Regions from separate parts of the Homo sapiens genome. Here regions 2 and 3 are each linked to region 1. Evidence: promoter capture Hi-C in 16 types of primary human blood cells and fetal thymus (Javierre and others, 2016). All regions are on one chromosome and are shown on one strand. Each heading gives the region's core, a stretch centred on a gene start or on the middle of the fragment in contact. The rest is flanking DNA. Distances are from core to core; before and after follow the strand shown. Region 1 holds the start of FABP9 (fatty acid binding protein 9). Region 2 has its middle 14 kb from the start of LNMICC. Region 3 has its middle 8.8 kb from the start of FABP5.

Region 1 (2,852 bases), core at 155-2,654:
TTGCTACACTACCCAGCTGGCCAACAGGCATAGCAATGTATGCTTGCTTTCTTTAAAGCAGAGAGTGCATACACATCTCGAACCAGTTAAGCAAACGTTTAACAACTTGCTCTATATTTGAACATCACCTCTGAATGCACTTTCAACTGCTGAGGCACTTATTTTGAGCTTGGGTCTTAGTTTCCTGAAATTAACTCCAGGATTTTCACTTACCCTGTTTTGCACTGTAGATAATTTAATAATTGTCCCACCCATAAAGATATCACATTATATGTTTCTTCTTTATATGTTTTCATCAAAAGCCATCCTTTATTCCACTTAAGTTATTGTTTTACAGTACCAAAATATCAACCTCCTGTTTATTTTGTTCACAAACAATATTTTCTGAATTAAATAAATACTTCATACAAAGCAGGTAAAAATATAAATATTCTTCTTCTGGTCCCTGACACTAACTTTCCAACATCTTCTAAAGTTAACTGGAGTTCAAAACCGTAATGTAAATCAACAGCTACTGAATCTACTCCTTCTTACTAAACTCAGTACCTGCAAAGTCCACTTCCATTATTGGGGTTGCAGAAGATGGTTTCAGAAGTAATGGCACAGAGATTGAAACCATTTGCTGCCTTTGTCTTTCTTTTAGAATGCAGATTCCAAACATCTTTTTCTATATGAAACTTGCCAAAATTTTTTCTTATAATTTAAAATATCTTTTAATGTAGAGTTTACTTTGTAAGCCTGAAAGACGAATTTTGTAGGCATTCGCTCTGCTTCCTTTTCAGAGCTTAAATCATATACTATTATCCAATGATAATTGTCACCTTTCTTTCCTGTCCTCAATTACCTTCGATTAACAACAATGATAATATATTAATAATACCCTCCATTTCCCTCCAAGCAATTATAGGCATTTTAGTTACATTAACTAATATCAACCCATCAACCCTGTAAGGAAGGGAAGGGAAGATATTATTTTAATGAAGAGGATGTTTGAGCACTGTGACTTACCCAAACAAAAAACAGCTGAGGTGGACCAAGCAAGGATTTCTTGTCTTAGGTAGGAAAACATCTCAGCCAGGTGTTTATCAATTTGTCAGGATATTCCTCCAGGGTTGACTCAGTATTCATTGTTCAAAAAGCTGATGTCTATTGAAGATTGTCTCCGTTCCACAAGTAATATTTGTCAGGTGACTTGGGTGTAAATCTTTTTGCTAGAAGCTAAAATCATTGACCAGAATTTAATTTTACATGCTAATTTTCTGTCTCTTAATTTGGAGGTAAATAAAATGAGTCAAATGCTGGTGCCTAGAATCTTTAGTCTTGCTGCTGTTGCCCATTGGCCATTTCAGAAGAGTCACGTGATGAAGACGCTCTTTAAATTAAACTACTGGCAGCACCGTAATGCCTATATTTCTTTGGTTTTCAATTACGAGTGGCTCTTCTCAGCAAGTGTTCCATGATGGTTGAGCCCTTCTTGGGAACCTGGAAGCTGGTCTCCAGTGAAAACTTTGAGGATTACATGAAAGAACTGGGTGAGAAATACCATTACAAATTTGGAAATTGGCAAAGCATTTTGTGATGTGATTGGGTTTGTACTTTACCATGAATTTTCCTACAATTATCTTCCTTTTGTGATCCTAGGGTATATAGACTAACACAATGTATGCTTCTACTTTTGCTTTTTTAAATTACTAGTAATAATTGTCTCTTTTTGGAAGACTAGGCCCACAGACACCTCTGTCCAGTCATGATCCATATATTTAAGCCCATTTATCCTTTTTGAAAATACTTCACCTAACTTCTAGATAGAATTTCATTTTAGCTTGGTCATTTCATTTAATAACATTTTTCCCAGCTTCAAATTTATAGACAGTAATCACTACCTACAATTAAATTGATCAATTAAATTTGTTTCAAGGTTTAAGTTATAGCTTTAAAACAGCAGTATCAACTAACAAAATTTCTAGTTGGTTAATTTTTAGAGTTCTCATAAATGTGAGAGATATTTTATAAACATGGTTTTGAAGAATTACAAATCTGAAGAAACACAACATTTTTACTCATTGAATGTCTCACCACTGGATATTCCTCAGAATTATAAACCCTACCAATCCTTTAATCTCTAACTCAAGTCATTTAGTTACACATTAATTATAATGACTTGGGTGTATAATAGCTAAACTGTTCTTTACTAATGGAAGAACAGCAATTATTTCATATTTTTCATATTTAATTAAGAGAAACCTCCCTTGTAGTAAACTGTATACAAAGCCAAGGACTTTCTTATCTTTACTTTTTTTTAACTTACATAACATGCTTAATGGATGCTTACAATTATTAATTATGTTTACTCATTCTAGACAATGAAATAACAATGCCTTATCCCCATAATAAGTCAATGTGCTTATAAATGTAATATTTGTTCCTCTGATGTAGTCAATATTCACTTTCTCAGAGGGTCATAAGAAACAAGTTTTTCTGTCTCTTCATAGATTTATAGACTCACTTGTTTTGAATAAAAATTGGGGGGGTATATAAAAAACTTGGGCCTTATGGCCAGAGTAGCACTTGTGTTGACTGGGAGCTGGGTTTAGGCATAATACAAGCAAGAATAACAGCTGAGCAGTTTCTATGTGCCAGTACCATGCTAACCCCTTTCATTTAACCTTTTAAAACATCCGCTGGCTGGGTACAGTGGCTCAGGCCTCCAATCCCAGCACTTTGGGAGGCCAAGGCAGGTGGATCACCTGAGGTCAGGAGTTCGAGATCAGCCTGGCCAACATGGTGAAACCCCATCTCTACTAAAAATACAAAAATTAGCTGGGCATGGTGGCATGTGCCTGTAATCCCAG
Region 2 (3,062 bases), core at 511-3,010, 170 kb after region 1:
TTTTTTACTTCTTTCTTTTTTTTTTTTTTTTGAGATGAAGCCTCGCTCTGCAGCCCAGGCTGGAGTGCAGTGGTGTGATCTCGGCTCACCGCAACCTCTACCTCCTGGGTTCAAGAGATTCTCCTTCCTCAGCCTCCAGAGTAGCTGGGATTACAGGCATGCACCACAGCACCTGGCTAATTTTTTGTATTTTTAGTAGAGGTGGAGTTTCACCATGTTGGCCAACCTGGTCTTGAACTCTGACCTCAGGTAATCTGCCCACCTCAGCCTCCCACAGTGCTAGGATTACAGGCGTAAGTCACCGCGCCTGGCTGTGAGTGATATTTTTATCAGTAAATGGTTATTAGTTTCCTACAGGAAGAGACTAAAGGATTAGGTATAAACATGTATTCATATCTACTCAAATAATTCCTGTATAAGTACTCATGAGGGGCAGAATAATTTCAGACATCAGATAGCATCCATTGAACTCTTGCGGCTGCCTTATCATCAAGTAACCTACATCTCTCCTCAATGCTGTTAGCAGCACTTAGCAGCTCAATTCTTGATCTCCATTTGTACTTAGACTTTAGAGTCTCTTTAAATTGAATAAAACAACATAGCCTGAACTTTGGTTATCTATAAGAGCAAAAGACTGAAAACAATCCACAAGACTATTAATTAAGCCTTTCCCAAGTATATTTGCAATTTTCTAAAACAAAACAGCACCATATGTCTGATAAGGACCTACCTTAGAGGAGTTGTTAAATTAATAAAGCAAGGTACAGAGATGCATATATAATTATGCCTGGATTTACAGAGAATATTGCTAGAAAGATAAATAAGAAAAAGGTTACCATGATTGCCTCTAAAAAGGAGACGAGTGGCTGGGGACAGGGGTAGTAGGAAGGCTGACAATTTTACTACTGTATTTTTGTATTTTGTAATGTGACACTGAAGTTATTTACAGACTCAAAATGATTTATTAATTTTTTTTAAAAACCAGCATGGGTATTGGAATTAGACAGACTTGGATTAGTATCCTGACTAAGGTTGCCAGACATAAGATGCAGGACATCCTGTATTTTTTATTTTATTTTTATTGCTAGATAAAATGCAAGAGTCCTGTATTTTTATTTGCTCAATACAGCAATCCTAGGTCCTGACCTCACCATTTATTTTGTTTGTAACTCTAAACAAGTGAGTTAGGTCAGATTCCTCTGAAACAGAAGGAAGGAGAGGAAGCCATGAAGGATGAGATCTCAGGCTCAGCCCCATCCTGTGGGTGAATTCAAGTGTGAGTTCAGCCTTGGTGTTGTCCCATCTTCAGCAAGGGAGCTGGGTTTCATATTCCCACACTGCACCAGGCAGCCCTGGCAGAGAAAGAAGAACACAAACTCTCAGTCACTTTCAGCCTTCTGCATGTGTGGGAAAAAGGGCTCTAGTAGTCCAAGGACAGATTTCCCACAAAGAGCCTTAGCTGCTGGCTGCTGAAAGTACACCAAAGCCAGGGGGATAAACCATAAAAACGTATTCAAAGGGACAAGCAGGTCACTGGGAGTCATGGTGAGCAAGGTCACTCCTATTCCTGCCTCTGGTTCCTGAGCCTGTAGATCGCTCCCATTGGATTCCCATTTGTACTTAGACTCTAGAGTCTCTATAAATTGAATGAAAAGTAGCCTGAACTTTGGTTATCTATAAGAGCAAAAGACTGAAAACAATCCACACAAATTTTATTTTTATTTATTTATTTATTTATTTATTTTGAGACGGAGTCTCACTCTATTGCCCAGGCTAGCATGCAGTGGCATGATCTCCGCTCACTGCAACCTCCGCCTCCCAGGTTCAAGCAATTCTCCTGCCTCAGCCTCCCAAGTAGCTGGAACTACAGGCGTCCGCCACCATGCCTGGATAAGTTTTTGTTTTTTGTTGTTGTTTTTTTTTTAGTAAAGTTGGGGTTTCACCATGTTGGCCAGGCTGGTCTTGAGCTCCTGACCTCAAGTGATCCACCCACCTTGGCTTTCTCCCCAAGTGCTGGGATTACAGGTGTGAGCCACCGCTCCCAGCCACCATGACTATTAATTAAGCCTTTCACAAGCAAATCTGCAATTTTTAAAAACAAAGCAGCACCATATGTAATAGCTGCTGCTTCATGCTGCTTACCACATCCTGAAGGACAGTACCCCAGTCTTGGGTTTGCCTTCAACAGACCGTTCCATGCTCCATCAGGCTAGAATCGTCTGAAAGTGGTGGTTTGTGGTAGGAACAGCAACTTTCCTCATCATGGACTCTTTGCCACACTTCATTCACCATAGAATGGGTCTCAAGGTGATGTTATATCAACAGATGAAACACTCTGTGGGCCCCCAGACAGCAGTGTTGGCTGGGGACCTGCAGAAGAAGGGAAAGCTCCTTTGTGGAATATGTCAATCTGGTCAGGATGAATTGAGCCCTGGAGTCCTTTGAGTAAGGACTGGAGGGATCCCTGCTGCATACACTTATGGTGGTGTTGCAGGGAGTTCTGTCTACCTATTGCTACAGAACAAATCACCCCAAAACGAGGCTTAAACAACAATCATTTTATTATGTCCCAAGGTTTTGGAGGGTCAGGAATTTCCAGGGCTCAGCAGGGCTGTTCTGAGTGAGTTCCCCAGAAGCAAAGCCAGAGCAAGAATTTGCATGCAAGTGATTTGTTAAGGGAAGTGTTAGGGAAAGATCTGTAAAGGCGTGAGAGAGGGGAAGTAGGAGTGGGAAGAGGAGGAAACTGAGGCAGGATATGATCTCAGACCATGTTCTACAGAGGGCGGGCTTTAGCCTGATCCAGGGAGCAACTCTGGAGGGTCAGTTATATCTCAGTTATATATCAGATGTCCTCATCTGATGCAAGGGACCTGAGCTTTCACACTCCTACACTTGACAGTCACTGGTTGTTTGCCACCCTGGGCATCAGGTTGGAATTGGAGGGTAACTCCCAAGCATGCCTGACTCCCTCCATGTGAAGCTCCAGAGGCCTCTTCAAATTGCTGTTCAGCTTCTGTTTTTTGATTTGTAAAATGGAAATAATATTTGTATCTGCCTCATAT
Region 3 (2,863 bases), core at 227-2,726, 190 kb after region 1:
GCTTTAGAGTTAGTTCATCGCTATAAACCGGGTAGTAAACGGACACCAGGCTATGCCTGAGGTGGTGATGCATACTGAGATATACAACTTGCATAATAAAAATTTCCAGAATACAAGTCAAAACTGGAATTGTCACCACCCGGCTAGTTCAGTAAGGGTCAGAAAATCCTGCTGAGTTCCTTTTCTGAGAATTGAGAGAAGAGTCTCAGAAGCAAAGCTGAATGATTTCTTGCCACACATACTCTGATGCCCTTGTCTTTCAGTAGAAACTGTACGTGGTTCCTGGGGAGAAGACTATGGTTCTATATGACAAGTTTTATTTGTTGCATGTTGTAAAATATTATCACTTCTGCAGCTATGTTATCAGGACATCATATAAGTGTCAAGACAGAATAGGACCAGCTTCTATAAACAGGAAAGAATGCCATTTACTGGTGTCCCTTTGAATGTATTTAGCATATGAAAGTTACTCTATGTTATGTACTATATGGGAAAAAAAGCTTTTTTCTCAAATTAAATACCTTTCCATTTTATTGCATTTTTGCATTTTGTTGACATAATCATCTCTGAGATATAGTCACAGAAACAAAAGTTTGACCCCAATATGAAACAGAAAATCAAAACTGCCTAATATTCCATTTGAAAGCATGTGGTGATACAAATCATAACTAGAAACAAAATAAAAATCACATAAGAGTTCAACAAAACATTTATTTGTCATTTTCCAATCAACGTGAATAGTGATGGTAAATCCTGCACACACAAAAAAGTATTGGGTTTCCTTTTGCTTCGTGCTTTACTAAGCAGGTGTCAGCTGCTTCTGGTTTTCCAAGGCAAGGCTCTAGTTCTTTCACACCCAAAGCCTTAGGGCCTCAGTACTCTGAGGGAACCTAACTAGTCCAAGTCACTAATCCACATGAACAAGTAGAACTTGATCTTTGCTGCCCACACCCAAGACATACAGTTTTTAATTGCGTATTTGGCAGTAATTCTTGGTCAGACGTGATCTCAGAACAATGAGTTGTCACTTGAGCAGACATATTGGTAAATTCTTCAAAGTTGTATAGTTTCATTTCTGAAAATAGATTAGTGGCTTGGATTTAGGACTAAAGGAGAATCAAAATCCTAGAGTTTAAAGGAATTTTAGATGTCTTCTAATTCAGCTAAAACTCAATCAAGATTCCTTTGACAAAAGATTTTCTGAGTAAGCAAAAATAGAATTGCAAATTATAGGTTTATCAAGAACACCAAATATATTCCATAATCATTTAAGTATTCTTTAAAATACTTTATGGGAAGAAAAATGAAAATGAAAAAATAAGGGGATTAACCTAAAAATTAAATTATTTCTTTCAATTCGTATTTGGCCTATGAAAATAATAGTTATTAATTCATAGTTCAAACAATACTAGAGTATGGATTATAAATAGACATGAGAAATGTAACACTGCAAGTAATTGTGCCATTGCTTGGCCTCCCCCCTTGTTCCTCAAGAAAACCATATGTCATAATAATATGTCATATACTTACACAAACATGCATAATTTGCTCACTATTTAAACTGTAGCAGAGCCTTTTTGGTCTCTTAGAAAATCTTAAAAAGTATATATCTTTTTTTAAAGTATTTTTTAAAAAACTATTATCTTTGTGTCCTCAATTCCCCTTTGTCTTCACTTGAATTGAAAACAATCTTAAAAGATTTTTTAAGAATCAAATTGGACATAGCAACTTTTGTCTCTATTATAATTCTAGGCCATAACGTTAAAATAGTCAGGCAAATAAATATTAGTATCATTTGTAAAACAATAATTTTATTAAATATCTGCTCTAAATACATAAAAAGTAAAAGCAGTGACCTAGGATATAGGAAACCCTTGTTCTAGACTTTGCTACAAAATACCTGTTTAAATTTAAATTTTTGTTTTCTCATCTGTAACCTTAGAAGAACAGAAGAAATTAAAATTTCCTGTGAGGAGTTTTTTGAATACAGACTCCATTATCAAACAAATTAGGGAAATTGGGCATACCATGATTCCCATTGGATATTTCCAGCTTGTATGAGCATACTAACAATGCCAGGAAATCTTGAACTTAAAAAATACATTTAACATTTTAAGAGCAACATCTCTACAAATGGATTGATTGCAAAACCTGCCTTGTTTGCTGCCATCCTTTTAGCAGCACTTAGAATGCTCTGAAGAATACTCTAGGAAAATGCTGATGATAATCTTCAGCCTCCAAAGTATTTGATTCTATCACCAAGACAATGTTCTGCGGGAATGAAGAAATATAGTACATAACTAGTAATGGCCTCGAAGAACATACATATCAGTTGTTCATGGAGGACATCTATGCATGAAAACTTACCTCTTAATAAAGGTCTTCTGGACATGTTCTATTGAGGTTCGGAAAGTGAATGCAGACCAAAGGTACAGTATTTAGAGAAAGCTTTGTATATATGACCTGGGAGGCCAAAGTAGATGCCCCTTTATCAATTAAACCAGACCTTAAAGTTGAAACAAGTTCCCTACAGGTTGAGGGTTCAGGGCTCAGCTAGCATGGTATTGTCCTAAATTCCTACAGCTTTAAGGAAAACCACACCTTTGCTAAACTCCTTAACAACAAGAGGAATCAGGCAAATTATCAGAACCTTCTTAACTCTGATTTACATCCCAGACCACCACAACTTTAATTGAACAGAGGACACACCTTACATTCTTTCCTGATAAGCGACTGCAGGCCTCAAGCCAGTTTCAGCCAGTTTAATAGAGATGCACAAACTGTCTTTGTGTCCTATAGTTCACCTTTTGATGTAAAGAGCAAAGTCCACCCCATTTTAATGCTAAAATCCCGCCCCAAAGTG

The links. Contacts are between HindIII fragments. The CHiCAGO score rates a contact against its expected background, and 5 or more counts as called.
Region 2: a fragment that was not itself captured here is called in contact with the fragment with the promoter of FABP9 in region 1 in 3 of 17 cell types (M0 macrophages, M2 macrophages and M1 macrophages); the score reaches 6.4 in M0 macrophages.
Region 3: a fragment that was not itself captured here is called in contact with the fragment with the promoter of FABP9 in region 1 in 1 of 17 cell types (M2 macrophages); the score reaches 6.2 in M2 macrophages.

The regions. Positions count from the first base shown.
Region 1 is chr8:81,460,131-81,462,982 of GRCh38, reverse strand. It overlaps FABP9 (fatty acid binding protein 9), which reads left to right and starts at 1,404. Exons shown (of 4, transcript NM_001080526.2): 1 at 1,404-1,532. The coding sequence starts at 1,460. LOC101927118 (a long non-coding RNA gene) reads right to left here and starts at 1,525. Exons shown (of 9, transcript XR_001745980.2): 1 at 1,009-1,525. The HindIII fragment of the contact is 22,583 bases long and covers 1-2,852 here.
Region 2 is chr8:81,293,935-81,296,996 of GRCh38, reverse strand. No RefSeq gene overlaps it. Among named protein-coding and RNA genes, the nearest start is that of LNMICC, 14 kb to the right of the region's middle. The HindIII fragment of the contact is 9,479 bases long and covers 1-3,062 here.
Region 3 is chr8:81,270,289-81,273,151 of GRCh38, reverse strand. No RefSeq gene overlaps it. Among named protein-coding and RNA genes, the nearest start is that of FABP5, 8.8 kb to the left of the region's middle. The HindIII fragment of the contact is 1,948 bases long and covers 503-2,450 here.